Regions from separate parts of the Homo sapiens genome. Here regions 1, 2 and 3 are each linked to region 4. Evidence: promoter capture Hi-C in 16 types of primary human blood cells and fetal thymus (Javierre and others, 2016). All regions are on one chromosome and are shown on one strand. The core of a region is centred on a gene start or on the middle of the fragment in contact, and the rest is flanking DNA. Distances in the headings are between cores, read along the strand shown.

Region 1 (5,755 bases), core at 2,453-4,952, 2.4 Mb after region 4:
GGGGGGCATAAATACCTGAGGAGCAAAGATTATAGAGTTAATAACTGAGTGGAAGGGGAAAATGGATGACTTTGGAGTTTCCAACTGGGCAGAATATTTAGTTAGGTGGAACTGCCATTAATACAAAGAAGGCTTTGGTGATGGGTTTTGTATGAATCACCTTTTGCTAGGTTGCGCTTTGTGTAACAAATAATCAAAAAATCTCAGTAACTCACAACAGTAAATATTAGTCTCTCACTTGATTTTGTTTTGTTTCTTAATCTCTCACTCGTGTTGGTGGCCTTTGGTTAGCTGCTGCTGTGACTGTTCCACTGCAGGGTAGGTTCAGGTCTGCTCCATGTGTCTTCCCATTCCTGGACTGAGGCTGAAGAGCAGCCCTGAATTAAACATGCCCTTCTCATGGCCGAAGGCACAGGAGCAAGAGGCTGAACACAAATTGGATTTAAAATCCTTGCTGGCATGTGATGAAATTAATGTGTGCTCACATTAGACAAAGCAAGTCCATGAGGGTGGGGGAGAATGGGATGAATGATCCAGTTTAGCTGTGTTTCCTGATTACAAATAAAAGCAACTATAATAAGTAATAATAATGGCAGGAATTTTATAGTGTACCCACCATTTTTCTAAAGGCTTTATGTGGTTTTACTCATGTATTTATCATAATGATCCTGTGCAGTAGGTACAATTGTTATTTCTGTTTTATAGATGGGAAAACTGTGGTATATAGGGTCCAAGAAATTTGTCTGAGATAACACAGAGCCTGAATTTGAAGCCAGGTGGTCTGGCTCATAACTCTTGAGTCCAGGGTCTTAACTGTTGCTCTATAATGCTTCTCACTCACCCAGCTCTACCTAGGTGGGTTCTATGGTTGAAAAGATGGGGTGGGAAACTTGTCAGTGGCTCAGCTCCAATTCATTATGACTGTCAGGCACTAACCTCTGTGGTTGCTCAGCTTCACAAGAAAATTACTAGGTTGTAGAATGTTGTTTCGCAGGTGATTAAAACACACACACACACACACACAAACACAAACACCTGGCGTCCTGAGAGATCAAGATTTGCCAAATGCAGTATCAGTAAGTAGGGAAACTGAAAGTTGAACTTGGTTTTGCCACTAAACTACACTGCCTCTTGGTTAGTGAGTCTCATCCTAAGGAGGCTAGGTTGGTTGATAAAGGATTGCCTGGGAGGTGAACTGTAGCCAGTACTGGCTCTTCTGTGATTTAAGTCTGATGGGCTGAGCTTGGCACAGATGTTGCCCAGTCTGTAGAGGCAAATGTCAGCTTCAGTGGGTCAGTGCTTTTCTTCTTTGACCCACTGGTTGCTTAAAAGTACGTTGTTTAATTTCCATATATTTGTGAATTTTCCAGTCATCCTTCTGCCATTGATTTCTAGTTTCATTCCATTGTGATTGAAAGGATACTTTTGGGCCAGGCATGGTGGCTCAGGCCTGTAATCCTAGCGCTTTGGGAGGCCGAGGCTGGTGGATCACCTGAGGTCAGGAGTTCTAGACCAGCCTGGCCAACATGGTGAAACCCTGTCTCCACTAAAAATAAAAAAATTACCTGGGCATGGTGGCGCACGCCTGTAATCCCAGCTACTTGGGAGTGTGAGGCAGGAGAGTCGCTTGAACCCGGGAGGCGGAGGTTGCAGTGAGCTGAGACTGTGCTACTGCACTCCAGCCTGGGCGACACGGCCAGACTCCGTCTCAAAAAAAAAAAAAAGGATACTTTGTATGATTTCAGTCTTTTAAAATTTATTAAGATTTGTTTTGTGGCCTGACATGTAGTCTATCTTGGAGAATGTTGCCTGTGCACTTGAGAAAAGTTACATACTTTTTTCTGCTGTTGTAGGGTGACAAGTTCTGTATATTGTGTTAGCTCCAACTGGTTCTTTCCCTAATACCATGCTGCTTCCTTGTTTTTTATTTTCTGGATTTTGCAGAGCAAGAGAATGTAGCAGAAATCATGACCCTCAGAGCTCTTGGAGCTGTAGAAAATAGGAAATAATGGAGATATACTGTAGACTGAATATTCATCTAAGTTTGAACAGTTAGGAAGTTGCTTAGTGTTCTGTCAAACAGAAGGAACTAAATAACTAGAGATGCTAATCACATGGGGAGCAAAATGTATTAGTGGGCCAAGTCTGAATTTCAAAGATAATTAGCTAGTTAAGTATTGTTCTAAAGTAATATGCTGACCAAACAAAATTTAAAAATACAGAAGGGTGAAAAGTTAGTCCCTCTACCTCTTTTCTACTTCTCACTGTCAATATTTCCTTGTGTATTACTTAATTTGTGTATATATGCCAGCATAGAGTTTTGTTCTGTTTTTTTTTTTTTTTTTTTGAGATGGAGTTTTGCTCTTGTTGCCCAGGCTGGAGTGCAATGATGCAATCTTGGCTCACTGCAACCTCCGCCTCCCGGGTTCGAGGGATTCTCCTGCCTCAGCCTCCCGAGTAGCTGGGATTACAGGCAAGCACCACCTTGCCTGGCTAATTTTGTATTTTTTAGTAGAGACGAGTTTTCTCCATGTTGGTCAGGCTGGTCTCGAACTCCCGACCGTAGGTGATCTGCCCGCCTCGGCCTCCCAAAGTGCTGAGATTACAGGCGTGAGCCACCACGGCTGGCCGAGTTTTGTTCTTTTTACTAATTTATTTATTTATTTGAAACAGTCTTGCTCTGTCACCCAGGCTGGAGTACAATGGCACGATCCTAGTTCACTGCAGCTTCAAACTCCTGGGCTCAAGAGATCCTTCCACCTTAGTTGGTCAAGTCGCTGGGACACACCACCATGCCCAGATAATTTTTAAATTTTTATTCTTTTTATTTTTATTCTTTTTGTAAAGATGGAAGTCTCCCTATGTTACTCAGGCTGGTCTCAAACTCCTGGGCTTAAGCGATGCTCCTGCCTCCGCCTTCCAAAGCTCTGGGATAACAGACATAAGCCACCACACTCAGCCTGTTCTTTTTAAAACATAAAATAGGATCCTTGGCCAGGTGCGGTGGCTCATGCCTGTAATCCCAGCACTTTGGGAGGCCGAGATGGGCAAATCACTTGAGGTAAGGAGTTTGAGATCAGCCTGGCCAACATGGCGAAACCCGGTCTCTATTAAAAATACAATAATTAGCTGGGCATGGTGGCACACACCTGTAGTCCCAGCTACTTAGGAGGCTGAGGCAGGAGAATCGCTTGATCTCGGGAGGCGGAGGTTGCAGTGAGCCGAGATTGCACCATTGCACTCCAGCCGGGGCAACAAAGGGAGACTCTGTCCCAAAAAATAAAAATACAAAATTAAAAATAAAAATAAGATCCTTTTTCTCCCTCTGGGATTTGTTTTTAAGTGTACTTTGTCAGTAAGCAAGCATTGGTTGGAATCTCAGATAGTGACTGATGGGACAGGAAAAATAAGATGGTATTCTAACCTTCAAAAAGCTTATATTCCTTAAAATAGGAAAACAAATAGAGATCAGTTTAAGTTCAGAAGGTGTTTAAGGAAGAAAGATGTTAAATTGAGTAGGAGTGGCCAGAAGTAGAGTTGAAGATGAGATAAAACATGAATTAGGCTTACAGAGGAGTAAGATATGGAGAGATGGACAAGTGGGGTGGTGAAGAAGAGCTTGAACAAGACAGGCAGGGGTGAATCTTTTCCATACGATCCAGTGGCCCAGCGTGGCTGCCACAGATGGGGTGGCCCAGTGTGGCGGCCACACAGAGTTGGCACAGACCACTGTTTTTTTTTTTTTTTTGACCTTTATTTTGGTAAAAAGGAATTGCTTTCTAATATTTCTCTCCCCTGTCTCCTCTATTTCTGTTTTAGGAGAACTACAAGCAGATGAAAGCACTAGTAAATCAGCTCCATGAACGAGTGGAGCATATAAAACTAGGTAAACACAGCATTTATTCCACAGCTTATGCCTTTACTTAAGATGTCCTAAAATAGTTATTGCTTTTAGGAAAAATACTGGAATTAAGCTTTTGATATTTTTTTTTTTTTTTTGAGATGGAGTCTTGCTCTCTTGCCCAGGCTGGAGTGCAGTGGCGCCATCTCAGCTCACTGCAACCTCCGCCTCCTGGGTTCAAGCCATTCTCCTGCCTCAGCCTCCCAAGTTGTTGGGATTACAGGTGCCTGCCTCCATGCCTGTCTAATTTTTGTATTTTTTAAATAGAGACAAGGTTTCACCATGTTGGCCAGGCTGGTCTTGAACTACTGATGTCAAGTGATCCATCTGCCTTGGCCTCCCAAAGTGCTGCAATTATAGGCGTGAGCCACTACTCCTGGCTGAGCTTTTGACTCTTAAGACTATGCATTTGTTGGTATGCAGGCATTTAATTTTATTTTTCCTATTACTTGGCCAGTTTTTCTCTTCATAGAGTACTACCACTTTTGGGGGGAAAAGTAAAGATTCAAATTCATAAATTTTATGAATAAATAATTTATTTTTAATTTTTATTAATTTTTTTTTTAAGAGATGGGTTCTTGCTCTATTGCCAGGCTGGACTGAACCCCTGGCTCAAGCGATCCTCTCATCTTGGCCTCCCAAAGTGCTGGGATTACAGGTATGAGCCACCACACCTGGCCAGTGATTTCTTAGTAGGCATTTAATATTTCCTCCCTAAGTGCTGAATCTCAGATGGAAAGCATTCTTCATATTTGATAGACTGTTTCAGATAACTTTTATCAACAAGTATATAATACTTAAAATTGTATATAATACTTTTAATGTAAAATTTTACATTTAGGTTAGAGTAGTTTAAATACTGGATCTCAGGAGTATAAAAATAGTGAAGAAGACTGGATTTGGAAAGTATGGTCTAGAATTGCTTATTTACTAGTTTATTTAGAGACAGGGTCTCCTCACTCTGTTGCTCGGGCTGGACTCGAAGTCGGGAGCTCAAGTGATCTTCTTGCCTCAGCCTCCCAAGTAGCTGAGACTGTACCTGTGCCCCTGTACGCAGCTATGGAATTCATACTTTTGAAGCCATTTTAGATCAAGGTGTTGTCTCCAGAAAAAGAATTCAAACTCTTGCTGAAATGAAAGTGTTTTGTTAGGGGTGATAACTCAATTGTTATGCCCATTTTGAGAGTTTGATTTGGTGAACTCACTGTCCCCCTTAGACATTAAGATGGTGGGTTTTGGGGCCAGGCACAGTGGCTCACGCCTGTAATCCCAGCACTTTGGGAGGCCGAGGTGGGCGGATCACATGAAGTCAGGAGTTCGAGACCAGACTGAGCAACATGGTGAAACCCTGTCTCTACTAAAAATACAAAATTAGCTGGGTGTGGTGGCGCATGCTTGTAATCCCACCTACTCGGGAGGCTGAGGCAGGAGAATTGTTTGAACCTGGGAGGCGGAGGTTGCAGTGAGCCAAGATGGTGCCATTGCACTCTAGCCTGGGTAACAGAGCGAAATTCCGTCTCAAAAAAAAAAAAAAAAGAGGTGGGTTTGACTCAATGGAGGGTTGAGGAGTCCTGTGGCATCAGGTGCCTGCTGGGGATGGTGGATGCTGAGGAACCGTGGTGCAGGCTGGTGGCCACAGGAGGGTAGAGGACTGAGCCGGACTCCCTGGGGAAGGAGGTAGGGAGAAGGGGGAAAGGACAAACTTGGCTGTCACAGCTTTGCCAAGAATTAAATGTCAGGGGAGCTTAATTATGTGCTCTGTGAGCCTGCATCAAGGATAACCCTCTTTCTGGTTCTTCCTAATAAAACCAGAATTCACCAGCTGCTCCAAATTGTAAGGCCCCACTCTAGACA
Region 2 (5,853 bases), core at 2,151-4,650, 2.2 Mb after region 4:
ACTTGAGCCTGGGAGTTCAAGGCAGCAGTGAGCCAAGATTGCACCACTGCACTCCAGCCTGGGAGACAGCGAGACTCTGTCTCATTTAAAAAAAAAATGTTTGAAAGGATTGGAATTTCTATTTTTAACATACTATAAACTGATCTAAAGGAGTGATCCAAGTTTTATGCCCTGCCTTCTAATAAAGACAGTAGTAGTGTGATTAATAAATCCTCCAAGAACAAAGCTTCTTTATTAAAGTTAGCCTGGGGTTTCTGAGGCAGGTTTATAATAAATCTCATTGTTGTATTGTTGATGGTTTAGCAGGTAGAGGTAGGAGTTGGGACAGTTCCTCAGCATAGCCCTTTTTCAGATTCACCAGGTCTTTGGCCCTGTTGAAGAAAGGGCCAGAAACCTAGGTTTTGAGTTGTTTAACATCCAGGAGTTGGAGACAAGTCACCTAAGTAAGCTGCTTCATGCCTTGGGATTGGGAGCCTCCTTTCACTGAGAAGTTAGAGGATAAGAACATTCTCTGTTGGGCGTGGTGGCTCATGCCTGTAATCTCAGTGTTTTGGGAAGCTAAGGTGGGAGGATTGCATGATCCCAGGAGTTTGAGACCAGCCTGGGCGATATGGTGAGACCTCGTCTCTACAAAAAATTAAAAGACAAAAATTAGCCTGGTGTGGTGGCATGCACCTGTAGTCCCAGCTACGTGGGAGGCTGAGGTGGGAGGATTGCTTGAGCTCAAGAAGTAGAGGTTACATGGAGCTGAGATCACAGCACTGCACTTCAGTCTGACACAGCAAGACCCTGTTGTTGTATTAAAAAAAAAAAAAAAAAGTATTCTTTACTTAGGACCTAACAAATTATTTGTATGTGATGACAAGCTTTTGACTGAAAAGTTGATTGTTGGATTGTACTGTCATTAACGAAATGCTGTGATATATCATTAAAAATTAGAAGTTAGAATAATTTTCTTCTTGCCTACAGATAGAATTGGGAAGATATAAATTAATAATTTATTAAAGATATTGTTATTTATGTTCAATAGTTCTTCACTGGAACAAGAAAAGAAAACTGAAAAGCCATCGACTCCAGTCCAGACAAGAGAGTAAGTATTTTATTTTTGAATATATTCTATTCCTACATTTTTTAAGAAATGAGATCAAATGGTGCTTCCTGTTATAGTTGAATTACATTTGATTGGGGTTGGGCACAGTGGTTCACTCCTGTAATCTCAGCACTTTGCGAAGCCAAGATGGGAGGATTGCCAGAAGCCAGGAGTTGAGACCAGCCTGGGCATCATAGTGACATTTTGTCTCTACAAAAAATGTAAAAATAAGCTGTGCATGGTGGTGTGTACATGTAGTCCTAGTTATTCAGGAGGCTGAGGTGGGAGGATCGCTCGAGCCCACATGTTCAAGGCTGTAGTGAACTATGATCACGCCACTGCATTCCAGCCTGGGTGACAGAGCAAGACTTTGTCTCTTAAAAAAAAATTACATTTGGTTGGGCTATTGTTTTTGTAATTTTAAAATTTTAATTTAATTTTTGAGACAGGATGTTGCTGTGTCACCTAGGCTGGAGTGCAGTGGTGTGAACATAGCTCACTGCAGCCTTGACCTCCTGGGCTCGTGATCCTCCTGCCTCAGCCTCCTGAGTAGCTGGGAGTACAGGTGTGTGCCACCACGGTTGGCTAAATTTTTTAGTTTTTTTTTTTTTTTTTTTTTTGAGATGGAGTCTTGCTCTGTCACCAGGCGGGAGTGCAGTGGTGCGATCTCGGCTCACTGCAGCCTCTGCCTCCCGGGTTCAAGCGATTCTGCTGCCTCAGCCTCCCGAGCAGCTGGGACTACGGGTGTGCGCCACCATGCCCAGCTAATTTTTGTATTTTTAGTAGAGACGGGGTTTTACCACGTTGGTCAGGATGGTCTCCATCTCTTGACCTCGTGATCGGCCCGCCTCGGCCTCCCAAAGTGCTGGGATTACAGGTGTAAGCCACCATGCCCAGCCTAAAGTTTTTAGTTTTTGAAGAGTTTTTTTTCATAGAGATAAGGTTTCACTATGTCGCCCAGGCTGGTGGTCTTGAACTTCTAAGCTCAAGTAATCCTCTCGCCTCAGCCTCCAAAAGTACTAGGATTACAGGCATGAGCTGCTGCATTTGGCCATTTTCCTTAAGGCTCAAATGAGCATGAAAATACTAACCCTGAAGGATTGTACTGAAAAGTTAATCAAATAATCTAGAAACTAATGCTATATAACTATAAGCATTATTATTATTATTATTATTTTTACAGATAGGGTCTTGCACTGTCACCTAGGCTGGGGTGCAGTGGTGTGATTAAACTCTTGGCCTCAAGAGATACTCCTGCCTCAGTCTCCTGAGTAGCTGGGACTATAGGCACGCATCACCATGCTGGGCTAATTTTTAAATTTTTTTTGTAGTGGTAAGGTCTTGCTATGTTGCCCAGGCTGATCTCAACTCCTGGCCTCGAGTGATTTTCCTGCCTTGGCCTCTGAAATTGCTAGGATTACAGGCCTGAACCACCATGTCCTGTCTGTTTCTCTTTATTTTAAAAGAGAGTAAAGACTGCTTGGGCCAGGCACGGTGGCTCACGCCTGTAATCCCGGCACTTTGGGAGGCTGAGGCGGGTGGATCACGAGGTCAGGAGTTTGAGACCAGCCTGGCCAACATCGTGAAAACCCGTCTCTACTAAAAATACAAAAATTAGCTAGGTGTGGAGGTGCGCGCCTGTAATCCCAGCTACTGGGGAGGCTGAGGCAGTAGAATGGTGTGAACCCAGGAGGCGGAGGTTGCAGTAAGTCGAGATCATGCCACTGCACTCCAGCCTGGGTGACAGGGCGAAACTCCATCTAAAAAAAAAAATAAGACTTCTTACTAAATGTCTCGAGATAAAACTTGAGAAAATCCTCTAATTGCGTCCTTAATAACACATACTGTTTTCATTTGGATTATAGGGAAAGTTGGAAATAGCTAGAAGGTTGAGTTTGTAATCATTTATTTTAAGTTTTATACTATTTAGGCACACTTTTCATGCCTTTGTGAATTAACTTATCTTTATATGTGGTAGGCAAGAAGGTAAGAGTACTCCTAATGCTGAAGATAATGAAATGGAAGAAGAGACAGATGATGGGCCATTACTGGTTCCTCGAGTAAAAGTGGCAGAAGATGGTTCCATTATTTTGGATGAAGAAAGGTATTTAGAAAAGAGAAAAAGTGAGATTGTGGTTACATGAGAACAAACATGCTTTGTCTAGTGAAAGAGGTCCTCTTTCTGTATTGGCCTTTGTCACTTAGACCTTGACGTTCTTATTTGCATAATGAATATTGTAAATAGAAAAGTGGGTTAGATTAATTTGTAAATTTTAGTAATTTTTATAACTATTTTGTATGAGAAGATGCCCTATCATCTATTAACCTAACACCATTGTTTTATTATCTTTACTGGTCATTGAGTCAGGCTGTTGAACTAATCATATGCTGTCTTCCACTGAGGATAAATTTCTAAGATTGACACAGTCTTGAAGTCAATATTCAAGTTCTCATATTATTAAGAGCATATCCTGGTGTGTGGTGATAACTAATGGATATACAATGAAATGTAGGTTTAACATATTTTATGATTTTTGTTATGGTGAGGTATAATTCATCTTTTGGTTTAATTTCTCAGTTATAACATTAAATTTTGCACATTGGGCATTGTGGAATTTAGTTGTCTTAAGGGTTTTTTTTTAAAAGATGATAAATTAGTAAGTAAATAAATAAAGCAATGGAAGGTCTTTGAAAGTTTAGCCAGTGAAAAATAATTTTATAGCATTCACATTCTATAATTAAACATAAATGTAATACTGCTAATAATAGTTGTTTTTGTGTGCTATTTTCCATTAGTTTGTGATGATGATTTTACTGGTCATTAAATAGTTAGAGCATATTTAACTGCTTTCTCTGCAGGAATGTAAAATATAAAGTGCTTGTGTTTTTCAAAATTTCCATGGAGTCCAGCACAGTAATACATATTGAATATCAAAGACATGTGCAAGTCAATAATACAAATACCGTTTTATAATACGTAGCCCAAAGATGTTTTGTAAATATTATATTGCTGTTATGGATTTTGAAAATGAGTTGACATTTCTTTCTACCCTCTTGGAATCACATTGTAGGTAAAACTTAGCAGATGCTTGGAAAATACCCATATTTCACATAGGTATTATTATGCCTTTGATATGATTGCCATGCTAAACCTCAAAATATAACTATTTACATCTCATTTGCTATTTGTTTCCTTGTTTTTAGTATACATCTATTTAAAAATGTGTTTATTTCAGTTTAACTGTAGAAGTTTTAAGAACAAAAGGCCCTTGTGTTGTTGAAGAAAATGACCCCATATTTGAGCGCGGTTCTACAACTACATACTCCAGCTTTAGGAAAAACTATTACTCTAAACCATGGTCAAATAAAGGTAACTAATTTTCATTTAAAAATGTGTAAGTTCTCTATTTGAAATGAATTGACTGTTTCTGAATTAAATCAGTTCTCCCCTAAGTACATAAAATGCAAACTACCATTTTATTCCAGCTAATTTTATTGACACCTCTATCTTATGCCCTCCATGGAATGGTATCTCTGACTTTGTCTTACAAATCTTCAAAAAAATTTTATTTTTTATAGCAACTGGGTCTCAGCCAGGTGCAGTGGCTTACACCTGTAATCCCTGCACTTTGGGAGGTTGAGGCAGGAGGATCACTTGAGGCCAGGAGTTTGAGACCAACTTGGGCAACAAAGCAAGACCTCATCTCTACAAAAAAATTAAGAAAAAAAATTAGAAAGTAGAGATAGGGTCTTGATTGATTGCCGAGGCTGGAGTGCAGTGAAACTATCTTAGCTTACTGCAGCCTTGAACTCTTGGGCTCATGTGATCTTCCTGCCTCAGCCTCCCAGAGTAGCTGGCACTACAGGCGTGTGCCACCAAACCCAGCTAATTTTTTGAAAAAAATTTTTTTATTTTTTGAGACGGAGTTTCCCTCTTGTTGCCCAGGCTGAAGTACAATGGCACGATCTCGGCTCACTGCAACCTCTGCCTCCTGGGTTCAAGCGATTCTCCTGCCTCAGCTTCCCAAGTAGCTGGGATTACAGGCATCTGCCACCACCCCCAGCTAATTTTTGTATTTTTAGTAGAGATGGGGTTTTATCATGTTGGCCAGGCTGCTCTCAAACTCCTGACCTCAGGTGGTCTGCTCACCTTGGCCTCCCAAAGTGCTGGGATTACAGGCATGAGCCACCGCACCTGGCCTGTGTTTTGGATTTTTTGAAGAAATAAGGTCTCAGTATGTTGCCCAGGCTGGTCTCCAATGCCTAGGCTCAAGCGATCCTTTGCCTCCCGAAGTGTTGAGATTATAGGCGTGAGTCGTTGTGCCCAGCCCAGAAATTTTTTTTTTTTTTTAATTTCTTTCAGTCACTGTTCTGCTGAAAGAAATATTTTTTAAGAATTACCTTTATAGTCGTTTTGGCTGGAATGTTCCTCTCTGTCAAATCTCTACAGTAAATACCATTTAAATAAAAATTAACAATACAATATTTCCTTTTTTTTTTTTTTTTGAGATGGAGTTTCGCTCTTGTCGCCTAGGCTGGAGTGCGGTGGCGCGATCTCGGCTCACTGCAACCTCTGCTTCCTGGGTTCAAGCGATTCTCCTGCCTCAGCCTCCCGAGCAGCTGGGATTACAGGCGCCTGCCACCATGCCCAGCTAATTTTTGTGTTTTTGGTAGAGATGGGGTTTCACCATGTTGGCCAGGCTGGTCTCGAACTCCTGACCTCAGGTGATCCGCCTGCCTCAGCCTCCCAAAGTGCTGGGATT
Region 3 (6,435 bases), core at 2,616-5,115, 2.3 Mb after region 4:
ATTCTCTCTCTCTTTTTTGCAATTAAAAAGCTTTATTTTTGTGCTTTTAATAAAAACTTGTAGATCACTGACGTGTAGATGGGAAACATTGGCTGTTTGTTTCCTCTCCTACGATGTGTTTGCGTGATCAGACGTCTTCAGACACAAACTTATGCCCTCAGTCTTCCTAATGACTTTAGGATGGATTGAGCCTTAAGCCTTAAACATCTCCCTCTTAATGGAAGTAATCTGGTAGTAAACTGAGGACAGGGATTTTTGGGGCTGAGAAAAATGTGAGGAAATGTGCCTTAATATATAGAAGTTTGTCAGGATAAACTTGGCCTGCTTCAAAATTTCACTTAGTTGTTTCTCTATAGTCTTCTCTCCATGCTACTTGAAATATATTAGAACAATGATGTCAGAGGTTTAACCTGTTACGAATACTTAATTTTTTAAAAGTTAATACCAGTGAGCTTAGTCATAGGTTTGATCTGCTTTCATGTTTGTTGACTTTATTTTTTTCTGTCCTCTGTAAATCCAGCTTCCATTGCTGATTCATGCTATTGGTAATGAGAATCAAGAAGCTCAGTAAAAATCTTTCATCCTTATTTTTAAAAAGCCGAAGGTTTAAGTAACTTGCCTATTGGCAAAGACATATTAAGTAGAGAGCAGTATGTTATTCCTAAGAGTTTCATTTTAATGCTTACTGCATTTAAAAAAAAATGCTTGTTTTATGAGAGAAAATTACCATAGGGTTTTTTGTTGTTAACAGAATAAATTTAAACGGGAAGAGAAAACAAATGGATGGAGAATAGACAAAGCATTCCGTAAGTATTAAGACCTCTTTTACAAAGTATTACTTGAAGAGCCTAAAAAATGACCAGTCTTTTGTCTTTGGCTTTAGTGTGTTTTAGATTTGTTTTGTTCCTGTATTGGCATTAAGAGGAAGCAGTCTGAAATTTTTCTGTTTAGCAGTATGGGTCTGGCACTTGCTACAAATATATTGGCAGGAGATTATCCAGAACATCTAGGTGCAGGTAAACAGTTCTAAGTCCAAGAAGTTATGGAGGGATTGATGCTACCACTTCTAAGTGTTATTTATTCTGAAGGAACTGTATGGGAGGAGATCATTGTTTCTGGAAGACAGTACTATTAGTTATATAGATGGTTCTTTCTGGTTCTGAATGACTAATCAGTCATTCAGTCAATAACACTGACCACCTACTATATGGTAGTCATTGTTCTAGGTATTGAGCATGTAATGGTGGAAGATAAATGGCAGATGAGAATCCTGCATTTAGAACCTTAAGTCTGATTGGATGGCGGAAGAAATATAGTTGATAAGCATAATTTTAGGTAGTGATTCATTTCCAAAAAGAAGAAAAAAGAGAGGGTGGATGTTTAGGTCTCTTTTTTCCTAATGATCATTGGATCATTAGGGAAGTTCTGTCTGAAGAGATACACTAGCATTTGAATTTAGATCTCATCTGAAGGAATGATAGATATCTTGCAATTTCTAACTAAAATCCTCATTAAAATTAACATATTTTTCTTCAAGTCTAGAGAAAGATATCAAAGGATCTATAAAGAAAAATACATTTACTGTTAAAAATAGTTCTTGTATTTTTTGATTACAAGATAGGTCTTTTTTTCACCACAGCTGTGGACAGGAATATATTTTTTGTGGATTTACAATTATCAGTATTTTATGATTAATAAATGTATTCAATGTCCATTTAGTCGTAAGATTAGCCATAGTGCTAATTTTAGAAAAAAAAAATCCAAATGTAGAGAGTACCTACATTATGTAGCATGTATATTTATTTTATGAGTAGACACTAAGGTAGGTGGGTGGATCCTACACCCAGTGTTTTATCGGGTCTTTAGGGAAACTGCTTTGAGGAATGGCTCTTAGAAGATCTGGAATATTGTGCTCCTCAGCCCATTCCATATTAGAGAAGTGGTCCTGAAACTTCATTAAGTGTAACACATTATAGTCAGAAAATAATTCGTAAATCTATAAACAGTCTATTTGGATTGTGAAGCATTTTTATAGACTATTATAATAGATATTTTTAAAATTTATTGATCTTAAACAGGATACAGTGTTGTATGCCTATAGGCCCAGCTACTCTCAGGAGTCGCTGAGGCAGGAGGATCTTTTCAGCCGAAGAATTCGAGGCCAGCCTGGGCAACACAGCAAGATCCTATCTCAAAACTAGAAACAACTCATTGATTTGGAGGCTTTCTATTGGAAATTTTTTTTTTAAATTAAAACCTATATAAGTTTTTTGAGAGAACTTATGTTTTGAATTTCTCTGAGAACCATGTGGAGATCCTTTATGATTCTTTGAGTGCTATGTCTTTCAGAATCATTGTGGAGAGTCAGAACAAATGAAGTCTGGGTCAACAGTGAAATAGGGTCTTCAGGAATCCCAGATTTGGGTTTAGTTTCCAGAGATTCTTTTTATTTTAGTATATACCTTCTTTTCTGAGGCTATCTTGTAATCAAACCAGTCTTTGGCTTATGTGCATAGAGCACCATTTTCTCTACATTGACTTTAAGTTCAAGCAAGGATTTGCCTCCTGGTCTGGATTCATTCCTGGAGTGTTCACTGATTACTTTCAGATATAATGCTGTTGATAGGTATTTAGTGGGCATGTTCCTGATTAAATTCATTTACTTCCCACTTTGCTGATACTTATAAGAGTAAATGGTGAAATGGTTGTGATAAAGGTAGGGCATATGGTGGTGAACAGGCATTTCAAGGACTTCTCAGTCCATAAAAAAATTGATTTATATTTATACACAGCTCAAAGTGTAGTTCAAGTTTTGACAAAGAATATGCCTGTGTAATCACTACCCCAAACAATAGAGGAAATGTTTTCATCACTTCACAAGGTCTATTATGTCCCTTTCTGAACAATCAAATGCTGTCCTCCTGGCCCAAGGCAACCACTATTTTCATTTTAATCACCATAGATAGCTTAGTGTGTTCTAGAATATCTTATACATGGTATCATATAGTATGTACCCTAGTATCTGTTTTCTTCCACTCAGTATGTTTTTGAGATTCCCTCATATTATTGCATGTATCAGTAGTTTGTTCCTTTTGTTTTGTTTAAAACTAGTTTATTTGCAATAAACAAATTATTACAAATTTGTAATAAATTATTATTTGTAATAAACTAGTTTATTTGTTTCGTTGCTGAGTGGTGTTCTGATGTGAACTAATCTATTTCCCTGCTAAGACCAACCTATTCTGTTGCTGAGTGGTGTTCTGTTGTGTATTTGTTTTTCTGTTCTCCTACTGATAAACAAACCCATTTGCTTTTGATGTTATGATACTTTAAAAGCTAGAAGTAGCTTTTAAAAATAAAAACTTGAAAGTTCTTTTCCTTTTCTTTAAACAGAGGAAAAGCGCCCTTTTGACTTCGATTTTTTTGCTCATTTGCTTCAGAAAGTTCTTGCTGAAGAAGAGAAAAGAAAACAAAAATCTGTTAAAAATCACAGTTTAAAGGAGAAGAAATCCACCAAACCACGGAAAAATGTAAAAGGTATTGATTTTAAAAGGAAGTGTGATAGTTTACTTAGTAGTAATAAACTTGCAATATTGTCCCTCAGGCCTTTGAGAGTTCATGTGTAGCTCAGGTAGTTAAGATCATCAAAGCATCCAGTTGGAGGGAGTATATGTTTTTTCAATCAACTAGTTATCTGGTCCAAAACAATAGCTTTCTTTTAAAATTTTTAACTGGCGTGATTGGGTTATTTGATATCTCTCTAGCATAGAGGATAGTTGTAGCCAGTCAAAGAGCATCAGAATTTGGAGTGTTGTATTTCATGTTTGATTATTTATTATCATTTTCCTCTGTAAAACAAATCTGGTATAAAATTCTAGGATTAAAAAAAGGAACTCTAATCTTCTGGGGTTGTGACTAGACTGTATTGGTTGAGCGTAACTTATTTCTGAAGGCTAATGTTGAGTTGTAACAGGTAGAAATTGTATATATGTAGGTATTTTTATTTTTAGGCTTATGTTTTCTTAACTATTTGAACTCTGGTCTATAAGGACAATGTTTAGCTATAATCACATAAAGAAGACGCTCGGAACTATAGGGAACCTTATATGTTAGCTAGCTTACATTTTAGCCCCCTTTGTGTTGTTTTTTTCTTTTTTTCTGTTTTTTTTGAGACAGAGTTTCGCTCTGTTGCCCAGGCTGGAGTGCAGTGGCACGATCTCGACTCACTGCAAGCTCCGCCTTCCGGGTTCACGCCATTCTCCTGCCTCAGCCTCCCGAGTAGCTGGGATTACAGGTGCCCGTCACCACACCCGGCTAATTTTTTTTGTATTTTTAGTAGAGACGGGGTTTCACCATGTTAGCCAGGATGGTCTTGATCTCTTGACCTCATGATATGCCTGCCTCGGCCTCCCAAAGTGCTGGGATTACAGGCGTGAGCCACCGTGCCCGGCCCTTTGTATTGGTTTTAATCACCAAGAAACAGCCCCAGAGATCGTAAGACACTTTTTCCTAAGGACTCACAGTGTGTGTAGTGGCAGAGGCAGAACTGAAACCTGGGATGGTGAGAGCCTGTGTTGGGGGTCCCCACGACCACCACCGGGGTTCGATTATCCACTAGGAAGACTAAGGATTCAGCATCCTCTGCCTGGAACATACAAAAATTTCGGATTTTCAAAAGAAAAGCAGTTCAGCATAAACCACATTGTACAGCTAAGGCACAGTGAGCCACTCTTATCAGTTAGGGTGGTAGGAACCCTTCCCAGAACCAAATTCTGAGACATGGCCCAAGGGCCAACCTTATAAGAAGGATTTTCAAAGGATAGCAGTCAAGCCTGCAAAATTAACTCTTTACTGTTCAAAGCTAGGCTAGAATTTCTTCTTCTGGGGCATATCTTTTAAAAAGTAGTATTGATAACTACAAAATACCTTTATTCTTAGTAGTCTTTTTTTTTTACTTACACATAATCGTAGAAGATTATGTATCTTCTTGTATGTTACAGGTGATAACATGAGTAACTCACTGTATCTTACTTAATGTAAGAACTTTTTTTTTGAGACAGGGTCTCACTTTGTTGCCCAGGCTGGAGTGCAGTGGCCTGATCTCGGCTCACTGAATCCTTCACTGCTCGAGTTCAAGCAGTTCTTTCACCTCAGCCTCCTGAGTAGCTGGAATTACAGGCATGTGCCACCATGCCCAGCTAATTTTTGTAATTTTTTTGTAGAGATGGGATTTTATCATATTGGCCAGACTGGTCTTAAACCCCTGACCTCAAATGATCGCCCACCTTGGCCTCCCAAAGTACTGGGATTGCAGGTGTGAGCCACCACGCCCAGCCAGAACTTTTTTTTTTTTTTGAGACGGAGTTTTGCTCTTGTTGCCCAGGCTGGAGTGCCATGGTGCCATCTCAGCTCACTGCAGCCTCCACCTCTCCAGTTGAAGCGATTCTCCTGCCTCAGCTTCCCAAGTAGCTGGGATTACAGGCAAGTACCACCACACCCAGCTAATTTTTGTATTTTTAGTAGAGACGGGGTTTCACCATGTTGGCCAGCCTGGTCTTGAGCTCCTGACCTCAAGTGATCTGCCTGTGTCAGCCTCCCAAAGTGCTAGGATTACAGGCGTGAGCCACCATGCCCAGCCCAGAGTTTTGCTCTTGTTGCCCAGGCTGGAGTGCAATGGTGCGATCTTGGCTCACTGCAACCTCCGCCTCCCGTGTTCAAGTGATTCTCCTGCCTCAGCCTCCCGAGCAGCTGGGATTACAGGCGCCTGCCACCATGTCCAGCTAATTTCTGTATTTTTGGTAGAGATGGGGTTTCACCATGTTGGCCAGGCTGGTCTCGAACTGCTGACCTCAGATGATCCACCCTCCTCAGCCTCCCAAAGTGCTGGGATTACAGGTGTGAGCCACCATGCCCAGCCTGTATTAAATGCATTTTCAATTTACAGTATACTCAACTTATGATGGGTTTATTGGGATGAAACCCAGTGTAAGTCAAGGAGCATCTCTATATGTAACTGTTTTTGTTTAATAAAAATGAGATTTTATGTGTATCTTGTTCTGCTTGGTTTTTTAAATGCAACAATATGCTTTGAAATTTTTCACATGACTACATATAATCTTACCTCATTATTATTATTGGCTCCGTGGATTTTTATATATTATTTAGTCATTTCCCATTAGACATTTTAGGTTGTCTTTAGGTTTTTTGTTCATACAAATAAATAATACAGAGGACATCTTTGAGTCTCTTTCCCACCTTTACAAATTTTTCTTTAGGTTGTTTAAATATTTATAGTAATTTCTCTTGTTTTCAGTGAAAAAAGTTGCCTGTGAAGGAGTGAATAATGATCCAGATGAGTCTATGAGTTCTAGAATTTCAGACACGGAAAGATCTCAGAAGGATGCTCAGACAGTTGAAGAAGAGTCTCTGACCTTA
Region 4 (5,853 bases), core at 1,374-3,873:
GGCAAGGATCATCATGGCCATCTTACAAGCTGGCTAATACAGATGCATGGAAGTGCTTTAAACTGAAAAATGCTTTGCAAATGTGTAATGCTATTTTCTTTTTTTTTCTTTTGGTTCAAAGTGCTCAAATGATATTTTATATATACAGTATCTCACTGTCTCAGAATATCATCTAAACGCTGTCTTCATTATCCTATTTTAAATGTCCCAGAATGGGAATTTACTTGTCAGCAGCACGCTGTAATACACTGATTATCAACTCATACGCCATGGCACACTTGGGGACCTCAAGTCTCACAACGGCATCATCAGATTTAGCTCACTAGCTTCTCTCTCTCTCTTTTCTTCCTTTCTTCCCTTCTTTCTTTCTTTTGACGGAGTTTTCACTCTTGTTGCCCAGGCTGGAGTCCAATGGTGCTATCTCTGCTCACTGCAACCTCCGCCTCGCGGGTTCAAGTGATTCTTCTGCCTCAGCCTCCCTAGTAGCTGGGATTACAGGTGCCTGCCACCACACCCAACTAATTTTTGTATTTTTAGTGGAGATGGGGTTTCACCATGTTGGCCAGGCTGGTTTGGAACTCCTGACTTAAGGTGATCCACCTGCCTCGGCATCCCAAAGTGCTGGATTACAGGTGTGAGCCACTGCACCTGCCGCTCACTAGCTTATTTCTACAAGTGAGGTTAAATTATTATTTCAATGATACCTGTCAGAAGAAACTATGACAACAGCATCACTAGGTATGACTTGCCTCAAGAGAGATGGTGTCTTTTCTGCAATGTGTGAGTTTTGCCTAGACCCAAGTAATGACAAGGGACTGAAAGATAATGGCTAACATATAGTAAACACTTAACTGTCAAACATTATTCTAAGGGCTTTGCAGGTGTGAGGTCATTTAAGCCTTGGAACAATCCTTTGAGTAGATCCTATTAGGGATGAAGAAACTGGAAACAAAGTAAGTAATTTGCCCTAGTTGTATCTAGTGGCTGAATACTGATAGGGCCACTATTCAAATGCAAGCAGTCTGATTCCAGAGTTAAAAAAAATAACTAAATTATTGGCCTTGGTATTTTGCTACTTTCTTCAACATATCTCTGAAACTTAGGATTTTCAACTCTTAGAAATAACAAATATAGGCTGGGCGCAGTGGCTTACACTTACAAATACCAGCACTTTGGGAGGCCGAGGAGGGTGGATCACCTGAGGTCAGGAGATTGAGACCAGCCTGGCCAACAAGGTGAAACCCCGTCTCTACTAAAAATACAAAAATTAGCTGGGTGTGGTGGAGCAGGCCAGTAATCCCAGCTAATCGGGAAGCTGAGGCAGGAGAATCGCTTGAACCCAGGAGGCAGAGGTTGCAGTGAGCTCAGATCGGGCCAGCGTACTCCAGCCTGAGCAACAGAGTGAGACTGTCTCAAAAACAAACAAACAAACAAAGGCAGGGGGAGGGGGGCACATTTCCATGTTGACAGCTGCTCTGGCTCAGAAACTTTTAATTATCCACTAGTAGAGCCATCTGGATTACTGCAATAGTTCTCTAATAGGCCTTCTTTCTTTTTCTTGTCCCTCAAAATCTATAATATAGTCTCCCAACAGCAAGAGTGAACCTTTTAAAAGTGAGTCAGGTCATATCACTTGTCTGCTCCAATCCCTCCAGTGGGTTTTCAGTGATGACTTTCTTGTACCACCCTATTTAAAACCTCCATCCCTGCCCCTGCCCTGATTTGTTATCCTTTATCTGCTTTATTATCTCTATAGCACTTATCACCTATGTATCATAACACATATTTGACTTGTTTTTTTATCTCCTCCCATTGGAAGGCAGGGATCTTTGCTCCCTGCTATCTCAGATTCTACAATGGTGCTTGGCACATAGATAACACTCAATATCAGCATCCTAAGAGAGAGAAAAATGAAAAAGGAAAAGCACTCAATATGTTTTTGAATAAATGAATTAGTGTGTTTGTTATGACAATTTATGATAATCAAGGGGTTGGGTACTCATTACTGCTAAGTTAATTGAGCACTGTCTCAATTAATTGAGTTAATGTCTAAGCTTTCTGCATGTTTCATTTAATACCCACAATCTCCTGTGATGTAGTTCATTATTTTTTCCATTTTACCGAGTAGAAAACTGAGGACTAGAAGCTGATTCCCACAGCACGTTTCAGTTGAGTTGGATTTTGTTTTCCTGGGCCTGCTTCTTCATAAAGGGACTGGACTAAGAATACTCTTGACCAGCCCGTAAGAACTTGGCACTCGTCTCAGTAATCTGAGATAGCAGGGTTTGGCGTCCATAGCAACCACGGCGACAGGACGCGCTCGAGCAAGAACCAAAAAGCGAGAACAGGTACAAGGCCAAACTTTCTACATTCACAGACACCTACCAAACCCCGAACATGGAACACCAAATTAGAACGCTGACCAGTTCCTGGTAATGTAGAAAACACCCAAGTTAAAACGGCAACAGAGTGACACAGCAGCCATTGAAGATGCCCCACTTCAGGCACCGACAGGCGTCACGTGACGGGTGGGGAACGCCAACCGCCTGGGCCTAGCGCAGCTTCCTCCGCCCACCACGGAAGTGAGGCGGGGATACTAAAGCGACGGAGCCCGGTGGACGGAAGTGGGTGTTGGAGGCTTTAAGGTAGCTTTAAATTCGTGTTGTCCTGGGAGCTCGCCCTTTTCGGCTGGAGTCGGGCTTTACGGCGCCGGATGGCTCTGGACGTGAAGTCTCGGGCAAAGCGTTATGAGAAGCTGGACTTCCTTGGGGAGGGACAGGTGAGGCTCTCTGGAAGGACGGGGAGGGCCCCAAGCGGACAGCCCCGCGCCGCCTCCACCTTTGCGGGTTTTCCCGTGGAGGCCAGAGGTCTGGCTTGGCTGCTCGTTCTCGTTGGGGGAAACCGTCCAGACGCACTTGCTGCCCATTCTTTACATCCTGGGGGTGAATCCCTGAGGGGCCTCTCCTTGCTGAAGAGTAGCCTGGAGCTGGACGGAGACTGACCCGCCACGTTTCCAGCCGCCGCGAGTCTGCTCAGGAACTCTGGGCTCTTTGCTTCGCGAAATGTAAAAATGCAAAAAGGCAAACACAAAAACTCCCATAAACTTATGTTATTTCTATTTTTCTTTCTAGTTTGCCACCGTTTACAAGGCCAGAGATAAGAACACCAACCAAATTGTCGCCATTAAGAAAGTGAGTTACCTTTTTATGTTGTTTTTAAGTCTCCTTGAAGATGTCTGTATTATTAATTGACTGATAGCCATTTTATTAGTCTTGACCATACTCTGATAATGAGTTACTCATGTCATTTTCAGAGACAAAATAATTAATTAGTGCTTTGTGTTCCCAAACGGAACTCTAGGGTTGAACCCGTTTTAATTTCTATTGAAATGAAGAAGAAGCTGTATGTTATTTTTACTGCATAAATTCATATGTTGTGGGCAAGTACTGCCCATCTTTTCGGTCCTCAGAACTATTGGATACCATGATCTTTCTAGGTCACTGTTTATACCTCACCTGCATCCACTCAGTGTGTCGTATCTGTATTTTCTGTGTACGGATTTACCATGAAAGACTTTCACTAGCATGAACAACATTGATGTGAGGTCTAAAATGAGTTCAGTAGCTTCTTATATTCATTCAAAAGACCTGGGTCGGATTCAGTAGCTTCTTATATTCATTCAAAAGACTTGGGTCGGGCCAGCCGCGGTGGCTCACGCCTGTAATCCCAGCACTTTGGGAGGCCGAGGTGGGCGGATCACTTGGGGTCAAGAGATCCAGACCATCCTGGCCAACATGGTGAAACCCTGTCTCTACTAAAAATACAAATATTAGCTGGGTGTGGTGGCACCTGTCTGTAATCCCAGCTACTCGGGAGGCTGAGGCAGGAGAATCACTTGAACCTGGGAGGTGGAGGTTGTAATGAGCCGAGATGGTGCCACTGTGCTCCAGCCTGGTGACAGAGGGAGACTCCATCTTAAAAAAAAAAAAAAAAAGATTTGGGTCATAATTACATAACTCACGTTCACCTACATTGTTTCTTTTAACCTTCAAAACAATCTATAAAGTGGTTAAAAGTAACCCTATTTTATACTTGAGGTACCTGAGACTGAGTGACTAGGTGACTTGTCAAGATCACACAGCTAGTGATTGCTGAAGCTGGGATTTAAATCCAGGTGTCCTGATGTTGCTTTTGTTACCGTTGCTACTTTGAATCTGCTTCTCCTGCTTCAAAAACCCTAACTCCTTGGAAGTTATCCATATTTAACATTAATTCCCCCTTTTTTTGGTCATCTTCCAGCCTCCAAGTACTGTCTTGCATTCATTTAAAACCTGACTGACTACTTCTTCTCAATTATTCCTGCCATAATTTTTTTATTTTTTATTTTATTTTATTTTTTATTTTTTTTGAGACAGAATTTTGCTTGTTGCCCAGGCTGGAGTGCAATTGTGCGATTTCGGCTCACTGGAACCTCTGCCTCCCGGGTTCAAGCACTTCTCCTGTCTCAGCCTCTCCAGTAGCTGGGACTACAGGAACCTGCCACCACGCCCAGCTAATATTTGTATTTTTAGTAGAGACAGGGTTTCGCCATGTCGGCCAGGCTGGTCTCGAACTCCTGACCTCAGTTGATCCACCCACTTCGGCCTCCCAAAATGCTGGGATTACAGGTGTGAGCCACTGTGCCTGGCCTTCTTTTTTTTTTTTTTTTTTTTTTTTTAACTTTTTTACTTTTTTTATGTCCGTGTTTTCTGGTTTATGTTTTATGATCCACCACTACAGCCACTCCCTTTAAAACCCTTAACTCTACTGAATCTTTCTTCATCTTTCTTTCTTTTGTGGTGGCGGGGCAGGAGGAGGTCTCACTCTGTCGCCCAGGTGGAAGGGTTAGAGTGCAGTGGCACAGCCATAGCTCACTGCAGCCACCAACTCCTGGACTAAAGTAATCCTTCCACCCCAGCCTCCAAGGTAGCTGGGACTATAGACACATGCCACCAAGCCTGGCCTAGTCATCTTTTTAATTCTGTCTCTGGTTCACTATATCATAGCCACACTGACTTTTCTGTCCCTGTACAAATTAAATTTATTCCAGTCCCAGAATCACAGGATCATTGCATTTGGTCTGGCTTCTTGGTTGGTATATTTTCCGTCTAGAACATGGCATGGCTGATTCCTTATCATCCAGGCTTCACTCAAATGTCTCCTCCATAGAGGCCTTTGTTCATTCCAGCTACATGTATGCCTCCCTCCTTCCCTATGCTTTGCTATATTTCTGTCATCGATGTGGCATTTGTCGAAATTTGAAATCCTCCTATCTATGAGTTTATTGTCTGTTTAATTCCATTCACACTGTACCTAGGGCCATGGCTAGTACATTTGTAGACACTGTTAAAAATGTATTGGCCTTTCAGCTGGGCGCGGTGGCTCATGTTTGTAATACCAGCACTTTGGGAGCTCGAGGCAGGCGGATCACCTGAGGTCAGGAGTTCAAGACCAGCCTGGTCAACATGGCGAAACCCCTGTCTCTACTAAAATACAAAAATTAGCCAGGCATGGTGCCCCTGCTAGTCTCCTGGCCTCAAGTGATTGTCCTTGCCTAGGCCTCCCTAATTGCTGGGATTACACGTGTGAGTCACTATGCCTGGCCTATTTCTTGAGGTGTTTTTTCTCCCCCAGTTTTAGACGTTGTCTATACTTTCTACTATGAACATTGAGGATTTGGTGTTGTAGACCTTATTCCAACACTCATAATTTCTACTCCCGTTCATTTGCTAGGATGTGTTTAATTTTATAAAAAGGGAAGGAATCAATAAATAAGTTACTCTGTACTCATTCACCTGTTGAGTCTTGGACTTT

What was found. Contacts are between HindIII fragments. The CHiCAGO score rates a contact against its expected background, and 5 or more counts as called.
Region 1: a contact is called between a fragment that was not itself captured here and the fragment with the promoter of CDK7 in region 4, in 3 of 17 cell types (non-activated CD4 T cells, total CD4 T cells and activated CD4 T cells). The highest score is 10.5, in non-activated CD4 T cells.
Region 2: a contact is called between a fragment that was not itself captured here and the fragment with the promoter of CDK7 in region 4, in 1 of 17 cell types (total CD4 T cells). The highest score is 6.1, in total CD4 T cells.
Region 3: a contact is called between a fragment that was not itself captured here and the fragment with the promoter of CDK7 in region 4, in 2 of 17 cell types (fetal thymus and total CD4 T cells). The highest score is 8.4, in fetal thymus.

Annotation. Positions count from the first base shown.
Region 1 is chr5:71,589,107-71,594,861 of GRCh38, forward strand. It overlaps MCCC2 (methylcrotonyl-CoA carboxylase subunit 2), which reads left to right. Exons shown (of 17, transcript NM_022132.5): 2 at 3,820-3,886. Among named protein-coding and RNA genes, the nearest start is that of MCCC2, 4.6 kb to the left of the region's middle. The HindIII fragment of the contact is 540 bases long and covers 3,433-3,972 here.
Region 2 is chr5:71,463,028-71,468,880 of GRCh38, forward strand. It overlaps BDP1 (BDP1 general transcription factor IIIB subunit), which reads left to right. Exons shown (of 39, transcript NM_018429.3): 4 at 1,031-1,090; 5 at 3,069-3,194; 6 at 4,327-4,460. Among named protein-coding and RNA genes, the nearest start is that of BDP1, 10 kb to the left of the region's middle. The HindIII fragment of the contact is 5,073 bases long and covers 865-5,853 here.
Region 3 is chr5:71,483,091-71,489,525 of GRCh38, forward strand. BDP1 (BDP1 general transcription factor IIIB subunit) reads left to right here. Exons shown (of 39, transcript NM_018429.3): 8 at 752-806; 9 at 3,394-3,537; 10 at 6,314-6,435. Among named protein-coding and RNA genes, the nearest start is that of BDP1, 31 kb to the left of the region's middle. RefSeq lists an enhancer at 312-606. The HindIII fragment of the contact is 7,674 bases long and covers 29-6,435 here.
Region 4 is chr5:69,232,263-69,238,115 of GRCh38, forward strand. It overlaps CDK7 (cyclin dependent kinase 7), which reads left to right and starts at 2,624. Exons shown (of 12, transcript NM_001799.4): 1 at 2,624-2,779; 2 at 3,132-3,191. The coding sequence starts at 2,714. RefSeq lists enhancers at 2,346-2,874, 4,586-5,086. The HindIII fragment of the contact is 18,686 bases long and covers 2,053-5,853 here.